2 separate regions of the Homo sapiens genome follow, and region 2 is linked to region 1. Evidence: promoter capture Hi-C in 16 types of primary human blood cells and fetal thymus (Javierre and others, 2016). All regions are on one chromosome and are shown on one strand. The core of a region is centred on a gene start or on the middle of the fragment in contact, and the rest is flanking DNA. Distances in the headings are between cores, read along the strand shown. Region 1 holds the start of TRW-CCA3-3 (tRNA-Trp (anticodon CCA) 3-3). Region 2 holds the start of RANGRF (RAN guanine nucleotide release factor).

Region 1 (6,712 bases), core at 3,843-6,342:
AAATACAAAAATTACCCAGGCATGGTGGTGTGCACCTGTAGTCCCAGCTACTTGGGAGGCTGAGCCAGGAGAATCGCTTGAACCTGGGAGGCGGAGGTTGCAGTGAGCCGAGATCGAGCCACTGCACTCCAACCTGGCGACAGAGCGAGACTCCGTCTCAAAAAAAAAAAAAAAAAAAATAGGCCTTCTGCATAGGGGACTTACTATATAAGTAACAACGGGGTAGTCACATTTCATGTCCTGAACTGATAAACAGTGAGTAGCCTTTCCTGTCATTTTCCATGACCTTGGTTCACAGAAGCCTGCCCTATAGAGACGCTATTTCTGCCTGCTCACAAAACCGATATTTAGAGCCAGCCAGTGGCCATAGGAGGTACTGCTGGTGATGAGGTGTCCCCCCAAGTGACTACTCACTCCAGGACTGGGACCCACAAGTACTAAGATTTGAACTCTTAATAAAAGGAGTTAAAAATCGTTTTTTTATCATGGACAAATTCAAACATGACAAAATAAAGAAAATAGCCGGGTGCGGTGGCTCATGCCTGTAATCCCAGCACTTTGGGAGGCCGAGGTGGGCAGATCACGAGGTCAGGAGTTCGAGACCCTGGCCAACATGGTGAAACCCAGTCACTACTAAAAATACAAATATTAGCTGCATGGTGGCAGGTGCCTGTAATCCCAGCTAATCGGGAGGCTGAGGCAGCAGAATCATTTGAACCTGAGAGGTGGAGGTTGCAGTGAGCTGAGATCGTGCCATTGCACTGCAACCTGGGTGACAGGGCAAGACTCCTTCAAAAAGAGGGGAGGGGAGGGGAGGGGGAAAGGTGAGGGAGTGGGGAGAGGGAAGGATGGGGGAGCCGAGGGGAGGGGAGATAATGAACACTTCTATTCTGCTTCAACAATTATCAACACATGGCCAACTTTGTTTCAGGTATACCCTCCCTCATGGCACACACCAGGTTATTTTGAAGCAAATCCTAGACGTCATCAAACAGTTCAAATTGCCCAAGTGTCTCCTACACACTTCTTTTTTCTTTTACAGTTTGTTTGAATCTGGGTCCAAATAAAGTCCACACATTGCACCTGGTTGTCATGTCTCGCTCATCTTGGGTCCTGCCTCCTCTCTACCCCCTCACCTCCTTTCTCCTTCTTTTCTTTTCTTGCAATTTATCAGTTGAAGGCATTGAGCCATTTCTGGGCCTTATTCTTGTGATGTGATTTAACATGTTCCTCCATGCCCTGCATGTCCTGTAAACTGGTTCTTAGATCCAGTGGTTGGTTAGTCTCACGTTCAGTTTTCTGGTAAAAACACATCATGAGTGACGGTTTGTTCTCCTGATTCCATTGCATCAGGACGCCTGCTTTTCCCTGTTTTTCTAGTGTTTAGGCTGAGCATTGGGTTCAGGTGTAGTCAGACTAGGCAACAATTATAAAATTCCCCGTCCGTTTTTCACCTAATGGTTTAGTTGATCATCACTGCCTAGCTCTATTATTTCATTAGGAGTTGCAAAATTGGGATGTCCTAATTCTGTCATTCTGCAGTAAGAACTTGCCATCATCAATTTGTTTACCATGAGATACAGGTCATACAGGAAAGGCAGGATAAATGTGTGGGTTTTTTCTTATGATTTACCAGTTTTCAGAAAAATGAGTTGGTTCTCTAGCATCTTGAAAAAGTAATTAGTTGTTTTTAATATCATTATGAACTTGTACATTTTAACATCTTTTGTGTATTTCAATCCATTGCAGTTATTCTTTTTGATGTTCAAATTGTCCCAATTTTGGTCGGTGGGAGCTTCTTCTGGTTGGTGCCTAAGCTTGCTTTCTTTCTTTTTTTTTGAGACGGAGTTTCGCTCTTGTTGCCCAGGCTGGAGTGCAATGGCGCGATCTCGGCTCACCGCAACCTCCGCCTCCCGAGTTCAAGAGATTCTCCTGCCTCAGCCTCCCGAGTAGCTGGAATTACAGGCATGCGCCACCACACCCGGCTAATTTTGTATGTTTAGTAGAAACAGGGTTTCTACATGTTGGTCAGGCTGGTCTAGAACTCCCGACGTCAGGTGATCCACCCGCCTCGGCCTCCCAAAGTGCTGGGATTACAGGCGTGAGCCACCATGCCCGGCTCCGTCTCCTCCTCCTCCTCCTCTTCTTCCAGACAGAGCCAGACTCCATCTCAAAAAAAAAAAAAAAAAAAAGAAAAAGACGATTATCTGACTATTCGGGTGGCAGGGAGATTAGAGAGGAGCCTGCTACAACAATCCAGCAAGAGAGGCTGAGGGGTTGTCAGTGGGATGGGGAAGGATGGTTGACAGGGGGATTATTGAGGAAATGGAATTGACAGGATGTGGTGACTGGAAGTAAGACGGTAGGGGGAGGGAAGAATCAAGGATGCATCCCCCAGCCTGGGCCTGGCCACTCTCTGGGAGTGCAGAAAGACTGGAAGGAAGTATGGCAGGGTCAAGTGAAGGTATCAGCAGGCACTACACATCTGAGTCCAGAGGTGGGAGCGAGATTCAGGAGCCCTTAGCAAGCAGGAAATAGCTGAATCCGTAGAACATGTGTAGCATGAGGAGAGAAAACCTCACCCGAGGAAAACCAGGATTTACAGGGAGAACAGAAAAAGAGATTGGAGCTGGGCGCGGTGGCTCACGCCTGTAATCCCAGCCCTTTGGGAGCTCGAGGCGGGTGGATCATCTGAGGTCAGCAATTCGAGACCAGCCTCTCCAACATGGTGAATCCCGGTCTCTACTTTAAAAAAAAAAAATTAAATTAACCGGCACCACGCCTGTAATCCCAGCTACTCGGGAGGTTGAGGAAGGAAAATCGCTTGAACCCGGGAGGCAGAGGTTGCGGCGAGCGAGAACGCGCCACACAGCACTCCAGCCTGGGCGACAGAGTGAGACTCCGTTTCAAAAAAATTTATAAAAGAAAAAAGAAAAAGAGACTGGAGCGGGGAGCCAGTTAGGAAGGGCCAGCAGACTAGTGTCAAGACAACCATGGGAAATGAGGCTCATGGAGAAGATGTTGCCTGGAGTCGGTTAAGGCCAGGCCTGAGAAAGCCTGTTGGCTTTGACATCTCTGTGGTCCCTGATAACTTTCGAGAGAGCCACTGTGTAGAAATTTGGCTTGGATGGAAAGGAATGAGATACAGGCAGGACCTCTTGTGCCATCTCGGCCTATTGAACTCCTTTCATTCTTCTAGAAACAGCCGGGCGCGGTGGTTCACGCCTGTAATCCCAGCACTTTGCGGGGCCGAGGAGGGCGGATCACGAGATCAGGAGTTGAAGACCAGCCTGGCCAACATGGTGAAACCCTGTCACCACCAAAAATACAAAAATTATAGCTGGGCGCGGTGGTGGGCGCTGTAATCCCAGCTACTCGGGAGGCTGAGGCAGACTTGCTTGAATCCGGGAGGCGGAGGTTGCAGTGAGCCAAGGTCGCGCCGCCGCACTCCAGCCTGGACGACAGAGTGAGACTCCGTCTCAAAAAAACAAAACAAAACAAAACAAAACAAAAACAGAAAAACAACAACAAAAAACTTATGTTGGCCGGGCATGGTGGCTCACGCCTGTAATCCCAGCACTTTGGGAGGCCGAGGCGGGCGGATCACCTGACGTCGGGAGTTCGAGACCAGCCTGACCAACATGTAGAAACCCTGTTTCTACTAAACATACAAAATTAGCCGGGCATGGTGGCGCATGCCTGTAATCCCAGCTACTCGGGAGGCTGAGGCAGGAGAATCTCTTGAACTCGGGAGGCGGAGGTTGCGGTGAGCCGAGATCGCGCCATTGCACTCCAGCCTGGGCAACAAGAGCGAAACTCCGTCTCAAAAAAAAAAAAAAAAAAAAAAAAAAAAAAGAAATACTGATGTTTGTGGTGGTTAAAATTAGAACAGAGATTGCCTCTGGCAAGGGAGGAGTGGGGATCCGTAGAGAAGGGACAGACATGCAAGAACCTTGAGAGAGGGAAATGTCCTATATGCTTTTAAAGAGTTGTGATTTGCGCAGGTGTATGTATTTGTCAAAACTCATCAAAATATAGACAAAATTTATCTGCCCTCCAACAGTTGAAATACCGATATTTTTCAAAAGTTTTACATACCGATCTCAGAGCTCTTCCCTGGGCCGTTTAAATCAGAATCTCCGAACCCGGGGGTTGTGCGTGGGTACATTCGAAGTCTCCGCAGGCAATTACAAAAGTGCAACCGGGGAGGAGACCTGCTGCTGGGGGAGCAAATCTCTTACCACTTCAGGTGCCCTAGGCTCTGGCACTGCTCTGTCACGTTCCGTCTGGTTCCCATCCTTCCATCCGTTTCTAGGCAGGTCCGTCCCCACTGGGCTGTAAGCTTTGGGATCCCCTGGCGATCAGCTCGGGACCCTCTATCTGGGCGTTGGCAGGACGCCGGGGGCCGGGAGGGACAGACCGCTAAGCCTGGATCCCATAGTCACTGCCCTGGGGTGCCACTCGCCCGGCTCGTCCTACAGGGCTGGCTCGGCGAGCGCAGATACGACCCCGCAGCTGTTCAGAGGGGCAGAAATGCCCTAGGTGCCCATCCATGCCTCGATTCATGACCCTGGCCTCCAGGGCGCACAGTGGTCATGGGGAGACCTGAGCTGCCGAGTGGCCGGCCGACCTCGTGGCGCAACGGTAGCGCGTCTGACTCCAGATCAGAAGGTTGCGTGTTCAAATCACGTCGGGGTCAGCGGCTATTTTTCTTCGGTTTTTATTAACCCCCTTTATTTTAAACTACGGTCGAGCTTCAGCGTTCAGGTCATTGAAGAAGCAATATCTCCTTGGGGCCTGAAGGAGAGGGGTTTCTGGAAGTTCCAAGGCCGCCCCGTCTGGACAGCCCAACCATCGCGCGGGGATTTTTGCGATGGATCCGGGTACCGTAATTCTGGGCGGATAACGCGGGTCCTAAGACAGGAGCAGTTCTAGACCTCTCAGCAGAGGGACGAGGGTCGGGCCATCACGCATGGAAGAAGTCGGTCTCTGATCTACGAGTTCTCTTTCCAGTGCCGAGCGGATTCCTTCCAAATGTGCAGCCTTCACGACGTAGGCGAGCCCCACCTGCAGGAAGTTCAGGTTCCAGAGAAGTGAGATGCGGAGGGCAGTCTGAACAGCGAGGGCTGTCTGCAGACGAGGTGGCCGAGTGGTTAAGGCGATGGACTGCTAATCCATTGTGCTCTGCACGCGTGGGTTCGAATCCCATCCTCGTCGGCTAAGGAAGTCCTGTGCTCAGTTTTGTAGCATCAAAACTAGGATTTCTCTTGTTACCCCCAGTCACTCCATTCAGTTTTCGTGTCTTTCCCAGCTGCATCCATCCTTTCCTCATTTTCGTATGCAGCCGACTTTTTGTGACATCTTTGTATTCATTCTCTGCAATTCAGCTGACCTGGCCAAGGAAACAAGATCCTAAGCGTCTTTCCGGCGGCGCCGTGGCTTAGTTGGTTAAAGCGCCTGTCTAGTAAACAGGAGATCCTGGGTTCGAATCCCAGCGGTGCCTCCGTGTTTCCCCCACGCTTTTGCCAACATTAAACATTGTGAGGACAGTTGCAGAAACTCATAACTTCCATCCTACATGGTTTACTCACGTACCCATCTATCCTCTCCCGGTGCATCTGCCACACGCTGTTGGGTTTTTGCTCTTCGTGCACATGGTACTTGCGCCTCGACCTGCAGTTACACCAGTCGCATCATCTGTACTTGCCAGTACTGTCTGTTACTCGTCTAGGTGCTCAGTTAGTCAGTGTTTGTGTTCTGTTTTCATTTCTCATAAAGCAGTCCCACAACTGAAGGTTTTTCCCGAGAGAACTGAACAGTATTGTAACTAAATAGATTTATTTCAAGCTTTTCGTAGCAACTGGCCGGTTAGCTCAGTTGGTTAGAGCGTGGTGCTAATAACGCCAAGGTCGCGGGTTCGATCCCCGTACGGGCCAGGATTGAAACTTTTCGAAAGTACGATTACTGCACTCCGTTTTAGAGCCAAGTAACGTCTCTGGGGAAAAACAGCGCCACATTTCCAATCCCAGAACAGGGAGCGTATTGGAGCGCATTCTAAAGTGGGCGTGTCTTGAGAGGAAGGGATTGAGAGAAACCGGGGTTGTTTCGTGATCTTTGCTTCTACATCTTATGGCCACAATATATGGCTCCTGAACTTACTGTGTGAACTGTAAACAAAAGGCTTTGGGACAAATTTGTCTCAAACCACGTGGCACTGATCTGCAGAGTGTGGGAAATGGTCAGGAATAGAGCTGACAAGTGTTCCCAGTCTTCCCCCAGAGGTAAGATGTCCGTCCAATCCACCCAGCCCCTGCCTATTCATGAGGACCTGAGAAGACAATTTCTTCCCCTTCTCTTCTAGAGCATCTTTTTTACGTTTCTGTGGTTACCGGATCTCTGGGCCCCTGTGAGTGATTATCTGTGTCCTCACATTTCCCCTCAGACCAGATGCTTAAGAGCAAGAACCATATCTTTCCCCACGGAGCCTGAGACATCTCCACCCCCACCCCACTCCCAGCACCAGCCCCAAGGGAGCTGCGTGAACAACACCGACCCTCATTCCCATTCCTTTGGCTTATTAATCACTGCAACCCCACACAGACTCAGCCTCAGCCTTCGCAGCAGCAGCACTTTAATTCCACAAAAACTCAGAAAGCCAAAACTGATTAGAACACTCCACAACAGGTGAGCTTCAAAACCAGCAACATTCTAC
Region 2 (6,017 bases), core at 456-2,955, 100 kb after region 1:
ACAGTGAGACCGCCTCTCAAAAAAAAAAACAAAAAAAGACTCAAAGTGTGCTCCACTGTTCCTTCAGTGAGGCATCGGGGGCTGTGTCCTAAATGTCTTTGTATCTCCAGCCCTTCACATTAGGGCCTGGCAAGGTAAGAGACCAATAAATATGTACCCTTTGGCTTCATTTCACTAAGTCATTAGGGTCCAGAGGTATGGTCAGCACTTGGAACCCTGTGGAATGGCCTCAAGATCAGAGTCCTCTTGCCCAATTCTTGGCTGGGAAGTAGGTGACATCTAGAATCCATGAGGGTATGGGTGATCTCCTGGGTTCCAGACATTTGCATTGAGTTTATTCAATCACTTAACAATATATATTAGGTCTGGGCTGGGCACGCTGGCTCACGCCTGTAATAATCCCAGCACTTTGGGAGGCCAAGGCAGGCGGATCATCTGAGGTCGGAAGTTCGAGACTCACCTGACCAACATGGAGAAACTCCATCTCTACTAAAAATACAAAATTAGCTGGGTGTGGTGGTGCATGCCTGTAATCCAGCTACTTGGGAGGTTGGGGCAGGAGAACAGCTTGAACCCAGGAGGCGGAGGTTGCAGTGAGCCAAGATCATGCCATTGCACTCCAGCCTGGGCAACAAGAGTGAAACTCCATCTCAAAAACAAAACAAAACAAAAAAACCCAATATATATCAGGTCTGTTATGCTCTAAACACCGTGCCGGGTGCTGAGGATCAAAGATGAATAGAGAAATGAACTGAAATGATATAGTGAAGTTAAAACTTAAAGAACACAACAAATCTGTAAAAGACAAACAAAAGAGGGTTTAATCTGTGCTTCTGTCCAGGTGTGTGGAGCTGGGGGTGGGGTTGCACCTGCCCGGGAGCATTCCCAAGGCAAATATTTGAGAGGAATTAGATTTCTAATACCCAGGTTGGCTCTCACTTTCAGGAAGATGTGAGACCTGAATCCTAACCTGGACGCATTGTTCCCCTAATTCCCAGCAGCAGATCTATGAATTAGCGGTCTGGGTGGCAGCCCATTCTTCTTTCAGAGGCCCAGAACACCGTGAAACTATGCTTTCCTGACTCAAGAGACCCTACCTAGACGTGGGCCCCTTTGACGAGCACCTGCCCCTCAGGAGGGTCTCAGGCGACCTTCTTGGAAGGTGTGACCACTTGAAAAGGACGAGGAGGCCAGGCGCTGTGGCTCTCGCCTGTAATTCCAGCACTTAGGGAGCCGAGGCGGGAGGATCGCTTGAGTCCAGGAGTTTGAGGCCAGCCTGGGCAAGATTGGGAGACACTCCCCACCCCGCCCCATTTCTACAAGTAATTAAAAATTTAGCCGGGCGTGGTGGCGGGAGCAGGAGCCACTCAAGAGGCTGAGGCAGGAGTATCACTTGAGTCCTGGAGGTGGAGACTGCAGTGAGCGGTGATCGCGCCACTGCATTACAGCCTGGGCGACACAGCGAGACCTGTCAATCAATCAATCAATCAATCAATCAAGAGGAGGCTGGCGGGAGCATGCTCGTGACCACCGGGGGCGACATAGACCCTAACCCTAAGTCCAACCCCAAGGCAGACCCCACCGTCCCGCCAGGCGCACTCCTAAGAGCGCGGCTTCCGGAGCAAAGCCGCTGACCCCCGCCCCCAGGGTCTTGGCGCCGATTGGCCAACGAGAGCGCAGGGCGGAGCCAAATCTTAAAGGATCCGGGAGCTAAGCCAGACCCGGGTGGCGGTGGCAGCTGCGAAACCCAGGGAGCCGATGCCACGTGACCCAATGTGGACTTCTTTTAAACCTTTCTAATGCCCATAACCCAGCCTCAGACCCATGGAGCCCACGAGAGACTGCCCGCTGTTCGGGGGCGCCTTTTCCGCCATCCTCCCCATGGGGGCCATTGACGTAAGGTGAGAAGGCCGGGGCGCCCAGGGGCGGCTGACTGGGTGGGTTGTGGGAAGAGACCGGGGTCAACCAGGGTCTGCCTCGCCTCACTCCAGCGACCTCCGACCGGTCCCGGACAATCAAGAAGTTTTCTGCCATCCCGTGACGGACCAGAGCCTGATAGTGGAACTTCTCGAGCTGCAGGCCCACGTACGGGGCGAAGCGGCTGCGCGGTGAGGGAATGGCCCCCGGCTGGCCAATGGCAGGGGCGGGGTCGGACCAGTGGGCGGGGCCCGCGGCCGACGGTTAATCCGGGCGGTGAGACCACGCACGGGCCGGGAGCCAGGCCTGCAACTTAAAGATGCTCCCGGGGAGGCGACCAGAGATGTCCCTTCCTGACCCCGCTTCCCTACTCCAGGTACCACTTTGAGGATGTTGGTGGCGTGCAGGGGGCTAGGGCTGTCCATGTGGAGTCTGTTCAGCCTCTCAGTTTGGAGAACCTGGCCCTGAGGGGCCGCTGTCAAGAAGCCTGGGTCCTCTCTGGCAAGCAGCAGATAGCTAAGGAAAACCAGCAGGTGAGGGCCCGAGAGTGTGTAATGTCCTGGAAGGGCGGTAGCGGGGACGCAGAGATCCAGGTAAGCATCCTGACTCTGATCCCCTTAGGTAGCAAAGGACGTGACACTTCATCAGGCCTTGCTGAGGCTGCCCCAGTACCAGACTGATCTCTTGCTTACCTTCAATCAGCCCCCGTAAGGAGGAAGGAACGGGCGGGTATCTCATGACTGGGTTCCCAGGAGAATCGGGCTGGGAGGGACAGAACAGGGAGACTCACTGGTGGGATCCTCCAAGGAAGCAGGAGTGGGCCAGAGGTTTGGGGTAACTGATACCCAGGTCCTCTGGGGAACAGGAATTGGCAATTTCCAAACCTCAGGCCTGGATGATGTTCTGTCTCCATCTGTTCCCCCACCCCAAGCCCTGACAACAGGTCATCTCTTGGCCCCGAAAATCTGTCACCTGCACCCTGGAGCCTGGGTGACTTTGAACAGCTGGTGACCAGTCTGACCCTTCACGATCCTAACATCTTTGGTCCCCAGTAAAGGCGCTGAAGCACTGCATGATGTTGCTGAGAACTTGGGGACTCGGTTCTGTGAGGGGGAAAAGAGGTTGAAAAGAGGGTTTCCTCTTATTTCTTCCCTGTGCGTAAACATAAGACAATCCCTCTTCAGAATAAACTTGCTTTATAATCAATATAATCTCTGTGCCTTTGAATCTAACAGGACACCTGGGTCCCAGACGCCTGGGAATTGGGTCTCTCGATTCCCTTTGGTTTTGGAGGGAGGAGTTTAAAACTGTGCATGGGAGCAGGAGGGACTCAAGGGTGGCAGTGGTGAGTGGGAGGAAATACACTTTGGGATGACTCGTTCAGCCCTGAGAGAGGGGTGTGAGTTACCCAGGGAATGGGTAGGGAAGGTTTAAAGCAACACCCAAGGAAAGAAGGGAAACTCATCTCTTGTAGTGATTCAACCCTGAGAACAGATGGGGAGTGGGGTTGGCTGTCCCCCATGGATGGATGAAAGGTCACCTAATCAGTAGTCACCAGGACATAGTGGTGGAGGCACAAGTGGCCAAGGAGTGCTCATTTGGTGGAGACTGGGAAAGCGGCTGTTATTTAGTGTCTGTGTAGTAGAGGGAGCGCAGCTGGTCCCAGAAGAAGAGGGAGAGGATGGTGTGGGGGCCGAGGCGGAAGTAGGAGGCACCTATACCCTTGTACATGCCAAAAATGCCCTCGGTCCGAGCTGTCTGCAGCAGAGCGTCCAGTATCCCCCGGTACATGAGGCCCTGAGAGTGTGTCAGAGAGGGAGGGAGAGCACAGAGAAGGAGTTTGTCAGAGCCCACCAGGGGCAGCACCTCTACAGGCTGCATTTCAGGCTATCCCACCTGCACCCGCAATCTGCCTTCCCCATCCCCTGCTTCCCGCCTGCATCCCAGAGCACTTCCTTACCTTGCCCTGTGCATCTGTGGGCTGGTTGTAGAGCCTTGTGCAGGCCACATCAAAGGGTGCCATGGCCAAGACAACTGCAATGCCACTCATCATGGCAGCCACCAGCGCCAACTTCCAGCTCTGGGGAGGAAAGATCTAAGGGGGTAGAGAGGAAGAGCGTTGTCAACCAGCCAACTATTACACCCCAAGGACAGGACAGTCCCTGCCCTGGGGACACAGATGCTGGTAACTGGGGGAGCTTCCACTGCACCAGTTATAACAGTGCAAAAACAGTGAGAAGGAGGAAGGCCAGGGTACCCTGAAGGCTCAGGTACCCCTTCTGGGAGGAAGTGACAAGAGAACTGTGGGAAGGGTCTAAAGAGTTGACCTCCAAGCCCTCCTGCCACTCCCTCACCTGTGAATGTTGGGCACCATCCCCTCCAGGGCCTAGTGCAGCTTGCCCTCCCCTTCCCCCCTTCCCGAAACAGACCCACCCATTTCCCAGGCAGTACCTCCCACTGGCTCAGGAGGTCCTTGGTGGATGAGAAGGTGCACAGCTGGGTGGAGGAACCGACGATAACTCGGGGCAGGCCGCCCAGAGCCCCACGCCATAACCCCACCAGACCATGTTTCTGGCCAATCTCGGTTAGCGCCTGAAACATGCCCTAGTGTGGGGAAGACCGGGGGTGGGGTTCAGACAGCCCAGCATCAGGGGCTGCCATCCTAACACTGCCAAGGATGGGTCCTTAATAGGAATCTCTTGTCCAGACAACCAGTTCAATGTGGGCTTAGAGCCAGAATGTGGGCCCTTGGTTGTCTAGCCACCCCATTGTTCCTTCCCTGGGCACCCAAGAACTGGGGCGGGATGTATGCAAGTGAGGCCATTCACTGGTCAGGAGAAACAGGGGCAGAAAATTAGAGGAACTGGAGTACATATTGGAAAGAGGCATCAGGCACGGTGGCTCACGCCTGTAATCCTAGCACTTTGGGAGGCCCAGGCGGGTGGATCACCTGAGGTCAGGAGTTTGAGACCAGCTTGGCCAACATGGTGAAACCCCATCTCTATTAAAAATACAAAAATTGCCGGGTGCAGTGGCTCATGCCTGTAATCCCAGCACTTTGGGAGGCCGAGGCGGGCGGATCACAAGTTCAGGAGTTCGAGACCAGCCTGACCAACATGGTGAAACCCCATCTCTACTAAAATTACAAAAATTAGCTGGACGTGGTGGCGCATGGCTGTAATCCCAGCTACTCAAGAGGTTGCAGCAGGAGAATCACTTGAACCCGGGAGGTGGAGGTTGCAGTGAGCCAAGACTGCGCCACTGCACTCCAGCCTGGGCAACAGAGCAAGACTCTGTCTCAACAAAACAAAACAAAACAAAAAAAATTTAGCTGGGTGTGGTGGTGCACGCCTGTAGTCCCAAGCTACTCGGGAGGCTGAGGCAGGAGAATCACTTGAACCCGGGAAGCGGAGGTTGCAGTGAGCCGAGATCGTGCCAATGCACTTCAGCCTGGGCAACAGAGCGAGACTCCATCTAAAAAAAGAGTAAAGAGGGTCTGGGTAGACTCCAGGGGCAAAATGGGACAGAACCGATGGGTTGAGCAGAGCAGTGGCTGGGATTGGATCTGTTGGGTGCAGGCAGAAAGCTAGGGGAAAAGAGAAAGGATGGTCAGGGACTTTGGCAGACTTGGGAACCCTCACCTGATGCTTATACTGGTGCCCTACAGCAATTTCTGAGGCTGCCTGTGCCTGCAGGTGTGTCTTCACCTGGGAACAAGAGAATATCATAGCCTGTGCCCCAGTGGCCATCCTCCTACCTGAGAACCAAATGTCTCACCCCCTCACACTTCCTCTAGGGTGTTCAGCAATGAATAGCCTCTTACTCTGATTATTGTTCTTCCTACTTAACAAACTGGTTAACAAAAAGACTCTGTCTCTAGGCTCCAGCCCCAGGGGGGTGGATCTCCCAGCACTGCAAGACACCCCAACCCCTTCATATCCTCTTTCCCTTGGGGCTAGCAGTCGGGGGTGGAGTGGTTGGAGAATGGCAATATTTCCTAAGGCTGTTCATGTTAGGCAAGACCTGGTGTCCCGCCTCTCATGCTAGCTCCCATTCCCAGACTGGATCTCCAGCCACCACTTCTATCAGGCTCCCCATCA

Evidence for each region. Contacts are between HindIII fragments. The CHiCAGO score rates a contact against its expected background, and 5 or more counts as called.
Region 2: the fragment with the promoter of RANGRF here is called in contact with a fragment that was not itself captured in region 1 in 5 of 17 cell types (total B cells, naive CD4 T cells, M0 macrophages and 2 more); the score reaches 6.9 in total B cells.

What each region holds. Positions count from the first base shown.
Region 1 is chr17:8,181,731-8,188,442 of GRCh38, forward strand. It overlaps TRW-CCA3-3 (tRNA-Trp (anticodon CCA) 3-3), which reads left to right and starts at 4,628; the gene lies at 4,628-4,699. It overlaps TRS-GCT4-3 (tRNA-Ser (anticodon GCT) 4-3), which reads left to right and starts at 5,136; the gene lies at 5,136-5,217. It overlaps MIR4521 (microRNA 4521), which reads left to right and starts at 5,215; the gene lies at 5,215-5,274. It overlaps TRT-AGT1-1 (tRNA-Thr (anticodon AGT) 1-1), which reads left to right and starts at 5,430; the gene lies at 5,430-5,503. It also overlaps TRI-AAT5-5, BORCS6 and LOC105371520. RefSeq lists silencers at 4,609-4,658, 5,159-5,208, 5,459-5,568 and enhancers at 4,889-4,998, 6,429-6,478. The HindIII fragment of the contact is 1,505 bases long and covers 4,341-5,845 here.
Region 2 is chr17:8,286,965-8,292,981 of GRCh38, forward strand. It overlaps RANGRF (RAN guanine nucleotide release factor), which reads left to right and starts at 1,706. Exons shown (of 5, transcript NM_016492.5): 1 at 1,706-1,901; 2 at 1,992-2,108; 3 at 2,294-2,450; 4 at 2,539-2,624; 5 at 2,849-3,123. The coding sequence starts at 1,825. The coding sequence ends at 2,972. SLC25A35 (solute carrier family 25 member 35) reads right to left here. Exons shown (of 5, transcript NM_001320870.2): 2 at 5,559-5,624; 3 at 4,369-4,521; 4 at 3,878-4,012; 5 at 3,097-3,714. The coding sequence ends at 3,541. RefSeq lists enhancers at 1,369-1,598, 1,959-2,078, 2,359-2,428 and a silencer at 2,159-2,208. The HindIII fragment of the contact is 37,216 bases long and covers 1-6,017 here.